Regions from separate parts of the Homo sapiens genome. Here regions 1 and 3 are each linked to region 2. The links are contacts of gene promoters, found by promoter capture Hi-C in blood cells and fetal thymus (Javierre and others, 2016). All regions are on one chromosome and are shown on one strand. Each heading gives the region's core, a stretch centred on a gene start or on the middle of the fragment in contact. The rest is flanking DNA. Distances are from core to core; before and after follow the strand shown. Region 1 overlaps DZIP3 (DAZ interacting zinc finger protein 3). Region 2 holds the start of MORC1-AS1 (MORC1 antisense RNA 1). Region 3 holds the start of RETNLB (resistin like beta).

Region 1 (3,931 bases), core at 416-2,915, 430 kb after region 2:
TATCTTCTGATTTTCTAAGCCTGTTGTGAGATTGAGAACTTTAAGTTCCTTAAAGTGGTATTATATCAAGTCATGCAAATTATGAAAGATTTAAGGTCTAAAGGAAATCAAACCTTAAATATTGAAGTGATGAGGCTGTGTACAAATGCAAATTTTAATTAAAACTATGAATTATCACCTGGGGGTCACTCACATGATCTTATCATGGAAAGAATGGGTAAAAATTTTGTATAAATCAGAATCTATAGCCTGTGATCAGCTTCAAAATTAATATGTAAGAAACTAAGAGAAACGCATATACTTTTTGGTTGACATATATTCACATACCAGATTTCTGATGTTCCTCCCTTATGCTGCTGTATTTCTTTTCACAAGCAAGCTTTTACATAAACCTAGTAATTAACTTCAATATGAAAAGATTTATAATAAAAGCACATTTCTCTTTAAGTCTCTAATATGTTGAAATTCTTGGGATAAATGGAAGAGTTTTGGTTGGAATAATACATCTTTGAAATGACGACTTTAATGTTGGATGGATTGCTCACTACCAGATTTCAGAGACTACCCATTCACCTTTATTCTAAGCTTCTTAGAAGACTTAGAGACTTATAGTTAATGTTTTGTTGGTCTGAGAATGCAGTGAAAAGAAACCAGGTCTCTTTCTGTACAAAAGAGGTCATGTTCTCAAGTGAAATATTAAGAAATACAAGCTTCATTACTGTAATATATAGGAATATGTTGACAGAGTTGAAAAGCAGTAAAATTTGTAAGACTGCCATCTTGTTTTCCTTTGTATACTTCCATTACTTCAATATTTTACCCAGCTCTAGTTTAGAGTGGGCAATAAGAGTAGACATAACTAGTGGGGAATTCAGAACACCTAGACTCTTAAACAACAGAGGATAAGGTAGGCATAGTTCTTATTATCCAGCTCAGATAAGAGTCAGCTACGTATGTTCAGGCAGTCTTAACTTCTCAGTCTTTTTCTCATGTTTAATATAACAGAATGAAATTACTAGATTTTCTTTCTAAAAAATCTAAAGTTCTCAAGTTAACTCTAGCTGACTATCAAGTTTTATTATAGACTGTTGACAGCAGTTTCTTGACATATTACTAACTGCTTATTGTAGTTTATCCAAAGTTAAGTCACTTCCATAAAATCTTCTTTGTTAACACTTCAACTGTCATCAACAAATATTTGCCAAACATTTACTGCACATACCAAATTGAATTAGGCCAAAAAACCACACCATTTTTGCTTTCTAATCTCCATATTCTAAGATGAAAGAAGCCAACATTTACAATTAAAGAATATTTATATTTTATCACATACTCTTGGGCAATGTTCAGATGAATTAAACGAAGAAAACGTTCAAAAGCTTATATGAGAACACAGAGTAGTCATTATGTCCATTCTGCCTTGATGCCCTGTCTTTTCTTCCATCTCATCCCACCTAACCTTCAATGCCTAGGTTCAGTACTATGTCTTTAACAAAGTTCTTCATTGAAGGAAGTTCCTTATCACAACAATCAAAAAAATATTCTCTCTACCCTACAAAATTTCCACTAAGTATACTCTTGTTTGACAGTTTTTCATTATGTACTTTTTAAAATAGTTAAACTTTTTATTTCAAGATAATTGTAAATTCATATGCGTGTATAAGAAATAATACACAAAGAACCCATGTATCCTTTCCCCAATTTCTCCCCATGGTAACATCTTGCAAAACTACTGTATAATACCATAACCAGAATATTGATGGTAATACAGTCAAGATACTGAACTGTTCTATCACCACAGGGATCCTTCATTTTGCCCTTTTAAAGCCACAACCACTTCCCTTCCACTCTCATCCCCTTCTTATAACCTTGGAACCACTAATCTGTTTTCCATTTTTATAATTTTGTCATTTCAAGAATGTTCAGCAAATGGAAACATATATAAGCTTTTGGAACTGGCTTTTTTCAATCAGCATAATCTTCTGATGTCTGCAGTGTTTGTAGTATTTGCAGTGATACATATCACTGTTTCATTCCGGATGGTAGTAATTTATGTCTTTTATATTGTCAGTCTTGCTAGAGGTTTGTCAATTTTATTGACCTTTTCAAAGACACAGCTTTTTGTTTCATGGATTTTCTCTACTATTTTTCTTTTTCCAACTCATTCTTTCTCAGTTTCTTTTTTTTTTGAAATGGAGCCTTGCTATGTTGCCCATGCTGAACTGTAACTCCTGGGTTCAAGCAATCCTCCCATCTCAGCCTCTCAAGTAGCTGGGACTACAGGTGTGCACCACTGCATCCTGCTCCCATTATTTCTAATCTTTATAACTTATTTCCTCCTGCTTGCTTTGAGTCTATTTTGATTTTCTTTTTCTGGGATCTTGAAGTGAGAGCTTGGATTATCCACTGAAGACTTTTCTCTTTTTCTAATGTGTGTATTTAGTGTTATAATCTCAGCACTGCCTCAGCTATGTGGCACAAATTTTGACATATTGTATTTTCATGTAAATTCAATGTATTTTCTCTTGAGAGCTCTTCTTTGACCCATGGATTATTTAGACATGGGTTGCATAGTTTCCAGGCCTTTGGAGGTTTCTTGGTATCTCTCCGTTACTGATGTTTAATTTGACTCCATTGTGACCTGAGAACATGCTTTGTATGATTTCAACTCTTAAATTTGTTGTTGAGGTTTGTTTTATGGCCCAGGTTATTGTCTATCTTGGTAGATACATCCTGTGGTCACTTGAAAGCATGTGTATTCTACTGTTGTCGGGTGGGGTGTTCTATAAATATCAGTTAGGTCCTGCTGGTTGATGGTGGTTATTGAGGTCTTCTATATCCTTGCTGATTTTCTGTTTAGTAGTACTATAAATTGAGAGTGGAGTTTGAAGTGTTCAATTATAATGGTAAACTTTTCCATTTCTCCTTTCAGCTCTATCAGGTTTTACTTCATGTGTTTTGAGGCTGTTTTTGGTACATATACCTTGAGGTTCTTGTGGATTGATCCTTTCATCATTATGTAATGTCCCTCTTTGTGTCCAACAGTCTTCTTTCTTCTGAAGTCCATTTAATCTGATTTTAATATAGCCATTCTTACTTTTTTTTAATAAACATCTGCATGATATATCCCTAGCTTTATTCTCATTTAGGTGCCTTTACCCTCCTCACTTTTCAAATATACTGGTGTTTCTTCTACATACATTGAATTCCACGAGATAGTGTTAAAATTTTTGCTTCAACCATCAAATATGATTTAAGAAATTAATTAGGACAACTTCTTATTATTTATCTTACTCTTTACTCATTCTGATGGTCTTCTTTCCTTTCTGAAGTCTCAAGCTTCTACTATATATATATTTTTAAAGTTTAGAGACCTTCCTATAGCCATACTTTAACGGTAAGATATATGAATTTGCTAGCAATAAATTCTTATAATTTTCCATTGTCTGAGACTGTCTTTATTTCCTTCTATTCCTACAGAATATTTTTTGCTAAATACAGGATTCATGGTTCTGCTCTTTTCTTTCGGTAATTGAATAAACTGCCACTTCATTCTGGCCTTCATGGTTTCAAACGAAAAATCTGTTGTCATTCAAATTACTGTTCTCATAAGTAATGTTTTTCTCTGCCTGTTTTCAAGCCTTTTCTTTGTCTTTTGTTTTCAGAAGTTAAGTTATGATGTGTCTTAGCATGGATTTGAGTTTTTGCTATTCGGGGTTCACTTAGTTTCTGAATTTGTAAATTTATACATTTCATCAAATTTGGGGAAATTTCAGTATTTCTTTGAATACTTTTTCAGTCTCTCTCTCATTCTGCTCTCTTTTTGAAATTCCAGTGACAAGTACTTTAGCTCTTTTGTTATTGGCTCAAAGGTCCTTTAGACTCTTTTTAATTTTTTTCTCCCAGTCTATTTTCTCTTTGTTCTTCAGAT
Region 2 (3,647 bases), core at 10-2,509:
GAAAAGAAGCAACTCTTTTTATATGGGTCATGAACAAAATGTTTGAAACACAGACAAGTGACGGATATTCAGACCTTCAGAAGGAACTCACACTTCAGTTACATAGTAGCATCAACTAGTAATAAAGTAGAAGGAAGATGACTAAAAGTAGAATCTATCCGTTGTTCAAACGGAGCTAGATCAATCTTGACCCATAGAAAATGACTACAGTACTTTCCGGGTTTTTAAAAAATTCTCTAGTCTTGCCCCTTTATAGTCCATTCCCCACACAGCATCCTGAGTGATTTTCTTTCTTTTAATGTACATTTTCCTGCTGAAAATGTACATTAATATCATTTTCCTGCTGAAAACCCTCAGTGGTTTTCCATTACTTAATACAATTTGTACTCTCAGCATCTCTTCCAAGACCTTACATTATTTGGCCCTATGCACCTCTTTGGCCTTTTCTTGTTCTTCCCACTTCCTCCCTTAGAACACTCCACCCACACATGGCTGACCCCTCATCGTTTGAATCCATCTCATGTTAACCATCTGCCAGTGGCCTTCCCTGATCATTCTGTCTGCAGGCCACGTTCCTGTTAATTCTCTATCGCATTACCCTGGTTTTGTTTTCTTCACTTAATACTCAGTCAGAAATGATCTTATTTATTAGTTTACTTTCAATCTGTTTCTCCTACCATGACATAGTGTTGTCCAAGGCAGGAGCCATGCCTGGCCTGTTCAGTGGTTTATTCCCATGCTCAGAACCGGGTAACCATGCACGTGAGTTCATGTAGTGTGTAATGAACACATGGGATTTGGTTCAGAGCTATACCATGTCTGTACCAAGACTTAGAACTTTGGGTTATAATCCTAGCTGTACCCTCTATCAGCTCTGTGACCTTGGGCAGGTTTTTAAAACTCCTTAGACTTACATTTGCTCATCTGTGACATGCAGGTCATAGTAATAATACCTTTCTTGTTTTGTTATAAATATTAAATAAGCTGTGCATGTAAGTATAAACATAGTACCTAGCATATACTAAACAATCAATAAGTGTTAGCTAAGATTGTCATTATGGATATCCTTACCTAATGCCTAACCCCTCATAGGAACATATCATAGGAGGTCCAGTTAGTTTCAGAGAAGCAGAATGTTTGGTGGCTTTTACACACCTCATACCATGTGCCACTGAACTATAGCATATCTGTACCCAGACTGACAGAGGGTCCTCAGGACAATTCTTCAGCATGTATTCAGGTAGGCCAACAAGAAGAACATTCTTGGTTCTGGAGATTGGTATTAATATATTCTGAAGTCCAGAGGATTACTGTCTAGAATTCCAGAATACCTGGAGAGGTCGGGAGAATGATTTGGAACGTCTGAAATGGTTAGCCTTCTTTCCCAGGTAGTATCAGAGCAGAGGTCATCCTGCCCCTCTTAGTCTCACATGGGCCTGGTTAAGGGCTAAATTCGTGGGGAAATTACTAGTGGTACAAGTAATTATAACACTTGTAATTTGGTAACACCCACCAAGTGCCAAGTTTTGTGTTCAGGATTTCACAAATACATCATCTCATTTCATTTGTTTCATTTATCTTCATCAGCAACACCGTGATATAAGTATTACGTAGTTGCCTCTTACACCACATGGAAATTAAGGCTCAGACTTTTAAACTCTACCTAAGGCCACATGGTTAGGTCTGTCTCATCTCTTTCAGTATACAGTTGTTTCTTAGTATCTGTAGGGAATGGATTCCAGGACCTTTCTAGGATACCAAAAGCTGTGGAAAGAAGATGGCACGGTATTTCCGTATAACCTATATATATCCTCCTGTATACTTTAAATCTTTTCCAGGTTCCTTATAATACCCAATGCAGTGTAAATGCTATTAAATAGTTGTTATACTTTGTTGTTTAGAGAATAATGACAAAAAAAAAGTCTGTACGTGGTCAGTCCAGACGCAATTTATTTTTTTCTGAATATTTTCAGTCCAAGATTAGTTGAGTCTATGAATGTGGAGCCTGCCGTACCTTGGGCTGACTGTAATACCATTAAGACCCTTGTCAGAGACTGTGGATTCTGATGAAAATCCTTGTCTCTGGGCTGACCCAAGAGCTATGGGTTTGTCCTGATGTTCTGAGGAATGTGAGGTCCTGACAGCTGGGCCTCAGGCCAGTGTCAAAGAGTCTTCCTAACCACCTTAAAAGTCACTGTCAATTACAGAGGAAGCTTCAGACATCATTTACTTTGGACGATCCAAAAAACGGCTGTCAACCTTGAAGTTCATAGGGCAATACGGCAATGGTCTTAAAAGGTGAGAATTTTTTTTCCCTTAAGACATATATTATTGATACTGGGAACACTGTTTATAAAGCAATTTACACAGAATGATGCAGGCATGTAAAGCTTTAAAAAATATATAAACTTGAGGCAGGGGTGACCTACTTTGTGTTGGAATCTCCATATACAAAACTGACTTTTTTTTTTTGAGACAGATTCTCACTCTGTCACCCTGGCTGGAGTGCAGTGGTGCGATCTTGGCTCACTGCAACCTCCGCCTCCTGGGTTCAAGTGATTCTCCTGCCTCAGCCTCCTGGGCAGCTGGGATTACAGGCATGAGCCACCATGCTCAGCTAATTTTTGTATTTTTGTAGAGACAGAGTTTCACCATGTTGGCCAGGCTAGTCTCGAACTCCTGACCTCAAGTAATCAGCCCGCCTCGGCCTCCCAAAGTACTGGAATTACAGGCATGAGCCACCACGCCCGGCCCATAACTGACTTTTATCTTTACAACATTTTAGGTTAATTCTCCCAAATAATAAAATAAATCCTCTTTCAAAGATTCCTGAAGCGGTACCCCTGTACTTTAGTGCTTTGTTGCATCTCTATGTTCTGTTGTTTCCCAAAGCATATTTTAACCTAGGTGCTGTGTCTGCAGCTCTTTGTTTTAGTATGCTGCATTGAAAGGTCAGGACATGAGGCTCACTTGTACGGCTCCTACCTGAGACAGATGATTGTTCTTTTGAGCCCTGAATGGACCCTTTCCCCTGCAGCCAAACCTCAAGCAAGAGTGTGGAGCTGGCTTAGTTCAAATTCTTCTGCTTTACTTTGAAAAAAAAAAAATTGTACCCTCTTGATGACGGGTCAGCAGAACAGAGTGTTGGAAAGAACATCCTGTTACAGTACACGGTGATAACAGTCTGCCTGTTTCTTCCTTTTTAGTATTTGAGGTGTAAAACATGATGTTCTTCATTTTTAATATAGTGGGTCCATGAGAATTGGAAAAGACTTTATTCTTTTTACGAAGAAGGAAGAAACGATGACCTGTGTGTTTTTTTCTCAGACATTCTGTGAAGAAGAAAGTCTTAGTGAGGTAAGAGTTGAAGTTTTCCTTCTGTTCCCATAGCAATGATGTTGCTTTCATTTACTCTCTCAGGAGGTGAAGTCTTGTCATGGGTTCTTTCTGATATTATTTAGAAACTTAGGAATATGTTTGGGAAATGGAGAGAAGGTATCAAGACATTCTGGGGACATCAAAGACCTGTCCTCTTGACCCTTTCCTGAGAACTTCATTTTCATTATCCATGTGCTCAAATCTCCCAAAGTAAGAGGCTCCCTTAGACATGATGAGCTTTTTAGAAGAAACCTGCAAAATCTTTCCAC
Region 3 (3,854 bases), core at 1,355-3,854, 340 kb after region 2:
TTCTTCTCTGGCCTTCCCCCTATACTTCATTCTGGCCATATTGCCATTGTTGTCATTCTTTCAACACACTAACCAACTCTCTGCCGTGGGCTCTTTATACTTGTTCCACAGGCTAGAACATTTGTCCCAGATTTTCCTGTGACTCACCCCCTCACTTCTTCAGGTCATTGTTACCTTTTCTGAGACACCTTTCCTGAACATACTGCATTATGGGCAATAGCACAGTGGCACACTCTATTGCCTTGTCTTGACTTATTTTTCTTTACAGCATTTCTCAATACTTGACCATATATACATACATATGTATGTATACACATACATACATATGTATGTATACACATACATACATATGTATGTATACACATACATACATATGTATGTATACACATACATACATATGTATGTATACACATACATACATATGTATGTATACACATACATACATATGTATGTATACACATACATACATATGTATGTATACACATACATACATATGTATGTATACACATACATACATATATATATGTATATATATACATACATATATATATATACACATACATACATATATATAAATACAGTATATGTATATACACTGTATTTATCTCCCCCATTACAAAAGGGCAAAGAGCTTGTCTACGTTGTCCACCACTGAGTCAGCAGAGCTAGAGCTGGTAAAGAGAAGCTCTACAAATTTTCATTGAATTAGCAAACAATTAATCAACCCATCATGTATCCCAAATCCAAGTGTATGCTCTTTCTTATTCTCCAGTCTCATTTTTCTTCTCTTCAACTCCTGTCTGGTAATTGAGGAAGCATCCTTGCCTTTTTGCTGGCATCTCCAGGCCTCATTTCTCAAAGTTGCCTGAGAGAGATATGTATAAGTAATAGCTGTTCATTAGAGGGCATCTCCAGGAAAGTGGGCAGAAAGGCTGGTCACAGAGGTAGAGCCCAGCCTTTCCAGCTCTGACTGCCTCAAGGAATAGTCACCTAACTGCCTTTTTCTGCTTCTCATTTTATTTTATTTTATTTTATTTATTTTTGAGGCAAGGTCTTGCTTTGTCATCCAGGCTGGAGTGCAGTGAAACAATCTCAGCTCACTGCAACCTTGAGGCTCAAGTGATCCTCCTGCCTCAGTCTCCTAAGTAGCCGGGACCACAAATGCATGGTACCACTCCCAGTAAATTTTTTTTTTTTGATAGAGTCTCACTATGTTGCCCAGGCTGGTCTTGAACTCTTGTGCTCAAGAGACCCTCCTGCCTCAGCCTATCAAAGTATTGGAATTATGGGCATGAGCCACAACACATGGCCCCTTTCTCTGCTTCTTCATCTGCACTTCTTTAAATTTTATTTATTCATGGTGGCCACATGCCCCATCCTAGATGAGGAATCATGGCATCCTCATTCCTCTTGGCCATATGTGAATCCTCAAAGTCCTCAATCCCTTATCCATTATTCTAAAATCTAAAAGGCTCTAAAGATGAAAATGTTCTGTCCTAAATTTGAGGCTAACTCATTTGGCAGAAAAACTTGGCATGGCCTGGTGTGAGGCTCTTTATGGTCTTTTATTTATCCCACATTAATATTCATACATTTTGCATCAGGCTATTTATGCATTAGACTGCAGAGTGCTGCCCCCAACCTCCTTGGTGGTTTAACATAATATACAGAATTTGCACCTTCCATAATCTGAAACATTCTGAGTTCTGAAACATACCTGGGCCCCAGGTCTTGGATAAGGAATTGTGAAGCCCAGCTCTCTTTTTCAGCCATAGCTGATAGAAAGGGAGGTTGTGTGACCCAGAACCAAACAGTGGAATGTAAGGGGAAATCTTCTTGAGCTTCTAGAGAAAGATCTTGCTCTTAAAATAAAAAGGTAAAGCCCCTACAGAAAGTGGCCTTGCCCCACTCCTTCCTTCCTGCTCAGGGTCTGGGCTGAGGATGTGGCACCTTCTACCTTGTGACCATGAGGAGACAAGATCGAAAGATTAGCTGAGAATGGTGGGGGAAAAAGGGAAACTTTATGAGCCCCCAAAAGAACTCTGGAATCATAAACCATGCTTCTAGTTAAGTAAATACTGAACTTCCTTATTTTTAATCCAGGATTAATTAGTCTTTCTGTGACTTTCCTCCAAATGAGATTGGCCAGGGACAATAAAATGGTGTCTGAACAGGTGACAAGTAGGGCCCTCCCTCAGCCAACAGAGATAAGAAAGAGCATACACTTGGGTTTGGGATAGATGATGGGTGGATTAATTTGTTTGTTAACTGCAAAGTAACCTCTTCCTGATGAAGGATCAAACAAGAAGCCTATAATACCGGCAGACCACAGAAGGCCCAGGTGCTAGCCTTATCGGGTTGCCAAGAAGAAAGGAGAAGGAGAACAAAAAGGCAGGAGGACTCCCTTGGCAGAGATCCAGAGCAAAGGCAGCTGTTGCTTCTCATGAACACTCCAAAGTTTATCACAGTCACCTGTTACCCTAGCTGGCACAGGTCTTTGAAAGTGTGCTGGGAGTGTGTTTACATGTTTGTGTGTGCTTGTATGTTAAAGGTGCCCAGGTTAATACCAGGTGTATTAAAACGCCCTTGCCTGGCTAGTCCTTGTAGACCTTCTCTGAATGTTTTGGTGAATAAATCTGTTCTTCAGCAACCCTACCTGCTTCTCCAAACTGCCTAAAGAGATCCAGTACTGATGACGCTGTTCTTCCATCTTTACTCCCTGGAAACTAACCACGTTGTCTTCTTTCCTTCACCACCACCCAGGAGCTCAGAGATCTAAGCTGCTTTCCATCTTTTCTCCCAGCCCCAGGACACTGACTCTGTACAGGATGGGGCCGTCCTCTTGCCTCCTTCTCATCCTAATCCCCCTTCTCCAGCTGATCAACCCGGGGAGTACTCAGTGTTCCTTAGACTCCGTTATGGATAAGAAGATCAAGGATGTTCTCAACAGTCTAGGTAACTGACTGGGGTAGGGGAAGCGGGGGGTTGACCCTTGCTCATTTCTCCTGTTCTTAAACTCTAGCTTTGTCTCTATCCCATCCCAAGATCCCAACCAAGCCCAACCCCTGATGAGGGCTTTCTACACTACCCTACCCGTGTTTGAAGTCTTGGCTAAAAGCTGAGGTTTTCCTGATGAGGAGGAAGAGGTGGAGGAGAATGGTAGCTGTAATTTATGAACACTCATTATGAACCAGGTATAATCCAAGTTTTACGTAGATTATTTCATTTAATTCCCACAACCATTTTATGAGGTAAGGACAACTATTACTTCTGCTTTAAAAATGAGGAAACTAACCTTAAAAGCTGATGAGTAGGCTGATTCTGGACACAGTGTCACCTCCAAGGTAGAAGACAATTTGGAAGGGGATAAGGGGATTATGGGGAGGATAGCTCATGGGATGTACCCTTTCTTCTTTCCTACTCAGAGTACAGTCCCTCTCCTATAAGCAAGAAGCTCTCGTGTGCTAGTGTCAAAAGCCAAGGCAGACCGTCCTCCTGCCCTGCTGGTGAGTAACTCCCTGAGAGGGAATGGCGACTACGATGCCCTGTATCCTCCCCTGTCCATCTCCCTGCACCTACGTCTTCCCCCATGTCAGGTCTGTATCACCCTGGCACCCTGGGGCTGAGTCATGACTCTTGGTTCCCAGAGACCCCTTGCCCATTCTTGTTTCCCTGAAGGATGCTACTGGGGGATCTTGGGCTTCTGCCTCTTCCTTTCACCCCTTCACTTCATGCCCCTGTTTCTCAGCCCTTCCTCTCCTCCATTGTCCCATAATGATCACATACTTCATTTCTCTTTCCAATCTATTCCTCTGTTTTGATGGGTAGGGGCCAACAGAGAGGTGAATTTATCA

What was found. The method cuts DNA at HindIII sites, captures the fragments that hold promoters and counts their contacts. A CHiCAGO score of 5 or more calls a contact.
Region 1: a fragment that was not itself captured here is called in contact with the fragment with the promoter of MORC1-AS1 in region 2 in 2 of 17 cell types (erythroblasts and megakaryocytes); the score reaches 5.1 in erythroblasts.
Region 3: a contact is called between the fragment with the promoter of RETNLB here and the fragment with the promoter of MORC1-AS1 in region 2, in 4 of 17 cell types (neutrophils, naive CD8 T cells, M2 macrophages and 1 more). The highest score is 8.8, in neutrophils.

The regions. Positions count from the first base shown.
Region 1 is chr3:108,665,412-108,669,342 of GRCh38, reverse strand. The region is part of intron 21 of DZIP3 (DAZ interacting zinc finger protein 3); the gene reads right to left. Among named protein-coding and RNA genes, the nearest start is that of DZIP3, 78 kb to the right of the region's middle. The HindIII fragment of the contact is 567 bases long and covers 1,382-1,948 here.
Region 2 is chr3:109,099,068-109,102,714 of GRCh38, reverse strand. MORC1-AS1 (MORC1 antisense RNA 1) reads right to left here and starts at 1,259. Exons shown (of 3, transcript NR_144461.1): 1 at 1,156-1,259. It overlaps MORC1 (MORC family CW-type zinc finger 1), which reads left to right. Exons shown (of 28, transcript NM_014429.4): 5 at 2,208-2,298; 6 at 3,249-3,357. The HindIII fragment of the contact is 2,885 bases long and covers 1-2,215 here.
Region 3 is chr3:108,756,160-108,760,013 of GRCh38, reverse strand. It overlaps RETNLB (resistin like beta), which reads left to right and starts at 2,604. Exons shown (of 3, transcript NM_032579.3): 1 at 2,604-2,955; 2 at 3,426-3,506. The coding sequence starts at 2,829. The HindIII fragment of the contact is 7,429 bases long and covers 1-3,854 here.